Linked DNA regions of Homo sapiens: region 1 is linked to region 2. Evidence: promoter capture Hi-C in 16 types of primary human blood cells and fetal thymus (Javierre and others, 2016). All regions are on one chromosome and are shown on one strand. Each heading gives the region's core, a stretch centred on a gene start or on the middle of the fragment in contact. The rest is flanking DNA. Distances are from core to core; before and after follow the strand shown. Region 1 holds the start of SNORA75 (small nucleolar RNA, H/ACA box 75). Region 2 holds the start of ITM2C (integral membrane protein 2C).

What was found. The method cuts DNA at HindIII sites, captures the fragments that hold promoters and counts their contacts. A CHiCAGO score of 5 or more calls a contact.
Region 1: a contact is called between a fragment that was not itself captured here and the fragment with the promoter of ITM2C in region 2, in 1 of 17 cell types (fetal thymus). The highest score is 7.1, in fetal thymus.

What each region holds. Positions count from the first base shown.
Region 1 is chr2:231,455,817-231,458,316 of GRCh38, forward strand. NCL (nucleolin) reads right to left here. Exons shown (of 14, transcript NM_005381.3): 8 at 2,450-2,500; 9 at 1,827-1,984; 10 at 1,185-1,308; 11 at 815-948; 12 at 194-320. It overlaps SNORA75 (small nucleolar RNA, H/ACA box 75), which reads right to left and starts at 120; the gene lies at 1-120. SNORD20 (small nucleolar RNA, C/D box 20) reads right to left here and starts at 707; the gene lies at 628-707. The HindIII fragment of the contact is 697 bases long and covers 903-1,599 here.
Region 2 is chr2:230,863,500-230,866,335 of GRCh38, forward strand. ITM2C (integral membrane protein 2C) reads left to right here and starts at 1,443. Exons shown (of 6, transcript NM_030926.6): 1 at 1,443-1,646. The coding sequence starts at 1,527. RefSeq lists enhancers at 127-785, 1,444-2,102, 2,103-2,759 and silencers at 1,193-1,562, 1,663-1,752, 2,543-2,642. The HindIII fragment of the contact is 7,451 bases long and covers 1-2,836 here.

The DNA.
Region 1 (2,500 bases), core at 1-2,500, 590 kb after region 2:
GCTAAATATACCTCTGTAAAGACAGAAGGTAAAATAATGCTAGTTCTGTGAATTCTCTCTTCTTCTCGTGCGAATCCATAAACTGCCACTGATAGACAGAAAGGAGCTCAATGAGAAGACACATTAGACTCAAGGTCTGCACAGAACAAAAACCCCTTCAAGTGGAAGCAGCACTCACGCTTCCTTCCCTTACCCTTTGGAGGACCCAGTTTCCCGGTCAGTAACTATCCTTGCCCGAACGGAGCCGTCAAATGACTCCTTTAATGTCTCTTCAGTGGTATCCTCAGACAGGCCTTTGACAAACAGAGTTTTGGATGGCTCTGGGAAGGAAAAAAAAATGTGACTTTATGTGAAGTCACAGTTCGTAACACTGAATTTGCACAATGCCTAGTATGACTACTAGCCAAGAATACTTGTTATAGTGAAAAAGCAGTTAAAAGCAACTAAGCCAACTAGTCCTTAATTAAAGTAAAGGCTATTCTGGGTTTACATTTTTTAATTGCCATTGCATAGTTGATATCCTGCCCCAGATCTTCTATGGAAAGTGGGAGAAGCAACCCAAGCAGGTGGGGCCCAGTGGATGGGGCAGGAAATCATGGGCAAACTTGCTACTCTGAGTTGACACAGCTGGATCAGAACTTGACTATCTAGAGGAATTTTCTTGAGATTTCATCAATTATTTCTCAGGTAATCAGTCATCATATCCAGTTATTGTTCACTCAGTAGCAACAGGAAACACAGAATTTGTGCAAAAAATAAACAAAGCACCGAGAGTGCTACCCCCAACCACAGCACCCTAACCAGGTGAACTTACGGCTTCTGGCATTAGGTGATCCCCTGGGTCCTTGCAACTCCAGCCTGATTGCTCTGCCCTCAATTTCCCTTTTATTACAGGAATTTAAAGCTTCTTTAGCGTCTTCGAATGAAGCAAACTCTATAAATGCATACCTGAGGATGAACAGTTAATGCTTAGAGTAAGTTACCAGGCACATGCTCCTTCACTGTCACATGATGCTGCCAAGCCCCTTCTCTCAAGTTGGTACCTAAATGATGATCTTTATTTTACACTCATTTACGTAGCTAAAATTATTTGGCTTTTCTGACAGGATCACATGACCTTACGTTCCTTTAGACCTCTAAGACATATATAGCCTATAACTGATGATACAAAGGTATTATCTTACCCTTTAGATTTGCCATTTTGGTTCTGGGGTACTTTGATAAAAGTTGCTTTCTCAAATACTTCCTGAAGAGTTTCTTCTGTTGCACTGTAGGAGAGGTTGCTTAAAACCAGAGTTTTTGATTCACCTGCAAATAGAGATGCCACATTCCTAAGACTCTGAAACAGTGGTTCCCAGCTTCGGTCACAACAGTAATATCTTATTCCTAAGAATTTCAGTGCTTGAGTTAATATACAAATACTCATGACGTAAGCTAAATCCATTTCTGTTACTCAACATATTAAGTACCTAGTACGTGTTGCAATGTCCTGCTGGTTGTTCTTACATAGGCTGATGACTGGTCTGTTTTCCTAGAATCATCTGAGTTCAAAACGCACATGGTCAAGTCATTTAAAGTATAAAACATGCCTACAAAGGAAGCTTGATTTGCCTACTGTATTCCAATGCAAAATGATTTTAGAGCTCTCATTCAAGATTGGAAATTACTATTCCAAATAAGAGTATGACTTGGGGTATCATGTCCTTGATCTTCACCTACATTTGAGTAACTTTGATTAAAAAGTATTTATAAACTTATGAAATACAAAGACACAAAGGAGTTCCCTCCACCAATTCTGAAACCTTGTAACAAGCCTAATTTCTTACCACTCCAAGTGCTATTCTTTCCACCTCTATAGTCTTGATTTTGACCTTTCTCTCCAGTATAGTACAGGGAAATAGATCGCCCATCGATCTCTGTTCCCTGCTTTTCTTCAAAGGTTTTCTCTGCATCAGCTTCTGTCTTAAATTCAATATAAGCAATCCTGCAATGGAGGGAGAAGAACTCATGGTTTTTAAAACCATATTAACACAAATGCTTTTACCTCAGCAACACAGAACTTGCTTCAGATCTGAGTACAATAAATGCCCTTAGTTTTATGCCACTTTTCAATCAAAACTCGAGCTTCCCTCTTACTTCCCACTAGTTTTACAAATACTTGGAATTTTTTCATAGTAACCTCACCTCACTGAAAGAACTGCTACTACTTACAAAGTATTTATTGTAAGATAGGCACATTTCTTGCTTCTTTGTAAGTATTAGCTTGTCTTTTAAAATCACCCTATGAGTACATTATCCCCATGGTACAGATGGGTTACTGAGGCACAAACTTACAGGTTAAACTGTCCAAGATTACACGCCTAAGGAAATCAAACCAATATTTCTTTTATAAAGCAGGAAAGTGCATTAATGTTAATAAAACCCTTACATTTCAATAGACAGAACATACCCTTTACTTTTCCCATCCTTGCTGACTAATCTGATCTCCGCAGCATCTTCA
Region 2 (2,836 bases), core at 193-2,692:
GGGTGCTTGGAAAACACTGAGTGAAGGAATGCATGTTGGGGGTGTGGCCTAAGCAAGACGTGGAGCTTGCCTTCTCCAGACACCAGGTTTCCCATGGGATCTGGAGCAGGTGATGAGCGGTAGTCCATAACACCTTCCTCTCTGGCTCTGTGCCAAACCAGATTCCTCCTCGTCTCCTCCAAACCATCTGTCTTCTTCCACCTCCCCATTCCCTCCCCCCAGTTCCCCAGGCTGGTGGCCTTAGCATCAGTTAGACTTTCTTCTTTCCCCACCTGTCTGTCCTCAAGGTTGCTAGGTTCATCCAAGATCTGAGCCAAGAGGTCCGGGTCTGGGACGTGGGCGCTAAGGGCCCAAGGCAGCTGCAAAAGACCTGAAAGGTGAGAAGAGAGATCAGTGGAGGACCCCGGACTGTCCTCAAGAAGCGGACGGACTCCCCTGCCCTCCACTGGCAGCCCAACAGCAGAACCAAAGCGGACCACTCAGCACAACCTGTGTGTGTTGCTGGGCGCTGTCCCTGGCCCAGTCTGGACCAGGAGCAAAGAGGAAAGATTCAGGGCGTTAGTGCCAAGAGCAGCCATCCCAGCAACAGAAGCCCCTGCTTCCCCAGTACCCGTGATACTTGGGAGGAGCAGAGTCTTGAGTGGAACCCGAGCCTCTGACACCCGCCCTGGGGGTCTTCCCTCCACTCTCGCCAGGGTCCTCCTGGATGAGTGAGACAAGGGCAGTTCAGGAGGTCACCCAATAACTGAGGTCGCAGCAACACGAAGGAGCCAGGGAGCAGGGGCGGCCTTCCCTTCTCCACTCCAGGCGGCTCCAGCGTGCACCCCAGGACCCCCCAGGAAGGTTTTGCAGGAATAAAGAATGAAGGCAGAAGCAAGATGGAGGATGAAGGAGGCGTGGATGGCTTCAGAAGGCAAGACGGAGGCAGCAGTTTGGCGCCTGTCTCAAAGCCTCCTCCCCGCGCCAAGGACAGGTCGGAGGAGGGGGGCGTGGGGACAGGTAGAGCGGAGGCTCCAGCGTTTCTAAAGGGGAAGACCTGAAGTGGGGCAGGAGAGACGGGTGAGTTGTCTGGAAGCTGCATTTGCCTGGCAAACACTGGGTTAACAAAGACTTGCGTTGCGGGGATGCTGGCCTTGGACAGGGAATGCGAAGGGATTATGCTACGGAGAACGGATCCGAGCGTGACGGCTGAATGAATGAGTGAGCGAGTGAGTGAGTGAGTGAGTGAGCGAGCGAGTGAGTGACTGTGCGAGCGAGCGGCAGAAGGAACTCCGACCCGCCCCAGGTGCGGAGCGGCGCGCCCGGCAGGGGTCACTGCGGGCCCCGCGGGCGGGAAGGGGGCGCAGGCGCGGCGGGCGCCGGGGCCCTCCCGCGGGGACGGGGCGGGGAGGGCTGGGGGTGGGGTTAGAGAGAGGGACGCGAGCGGGATCCAAACTTCCGGTGCCTGCAGAGCTCGGAGCGGCGGAGGCAGAGACCGAGGCTGCACCGGCAGAGGCTGCGGGGCGGACGCGCGGGCCGGCGCAGCCATGGTGAAGATTAGCTTCCAGCCCGCCGTGGCTGGCATCAAGGGCGACAAGGCTGACAAGGCGTCGGCGTCGGCCCCTGCGCCGGCCTCGGCCACCGAGATCCTGCTGACGCCGGCTAGGGTGAGAGGGTCTGGGGCTCAGGCGGTGGGGCGGGGGACCCAGGCTCACGACCCAGGCGCGCCCCGTCGGCCCTGGGGACTGCCCGAGGCGCGTCAGGGCCCCAGAGCCCGGGGTGGAGCAGGGTTGGGAAGTCTCGAATGGTTGCTTATCCCAGAATGAGGAGGGGGCTTAAGTCCCGTACTAAAGCGGCAGCCAAAAGCTGAAGTCCGAAGAGTGGGAGGCGTCTGGTTCTGGTCTTCAGGTGGAGAAGTGCTCGAGGTCTCTTCCAAAAGTGGGGGCCCCCTCGCCGCCTTATAGGGGGAGGGGGCTGGTCCGAAGAAGTTCGAGGAATGTTGGTGGGGGGGTACGCGTCTGGTTCCAATCAACTGGGAAAGCCGCGAGTCGAGTCCCCAGGTGGGGGATGGGAGGAGGGTTAGACGTAGTTTTTCCAAAGTAGGGCGGTGGGACCTGATTGGCTGGGGAATTGGGGGTGGGGGGGTCTGGTACCAACGAAGAGGGTGGGGCCGTTGATTTCCTCCGAAATTGGGGGCTGCGAGGGACAGAGGATGTGCTGCTGGCCTGCACCGGAATTGACAGACCAGAAAGTGATGAAATGGAAATCAGCCAGAACCGACGGCGCTGCGGCCTCTGGACGTCGGGGGTCCGAGGCCGGGTGCCCCCTTCCCACCCCACGCCCTGCCGTCTGGGCCTCCCTGCTCCCCTCTCTTTTCTCCATTCCCAGCCTCTCGCTGGGCTGTCCCCCGACCCCACGGGGAGGGCTCCCAACTGCCCCAGTGCCCTTGCATCCTGGGTCCCCGGGCTCTGTGCGCGTTCCCCCACCCCTGTCATCCCCCTCCCCTACCCCGGCTTCCTCCACTTTCCCTCTGGCCGGGGGGGAGAGAAGGCATTTCCGCCGTGGAAAACTGTCTGAGCTGCGTGCCTTGTGTCCGGGAAGGGCCCGCAGGGGGCAGAACGCGTGGCGGGCAGGGACAGGGAGGGAGGGAGAGCTGGCCCAGCCAGGTTTTATTGTGCCTGGCAAAGGTGTCTACGTGGGCGCCGCCCCCAGCGGTCTTGTGGCTTACCAAGCCCATGTCCTCCCCGCCTCCCCACCCCGCATTGAGGCAGGACTGAGAAAGTCTTTGTCCACTGCTTCCCCACTTCCAGATGCAGGCTTCTGAAGAGTCTTCCTGAACGCCTAGCCCCCTCCCCAG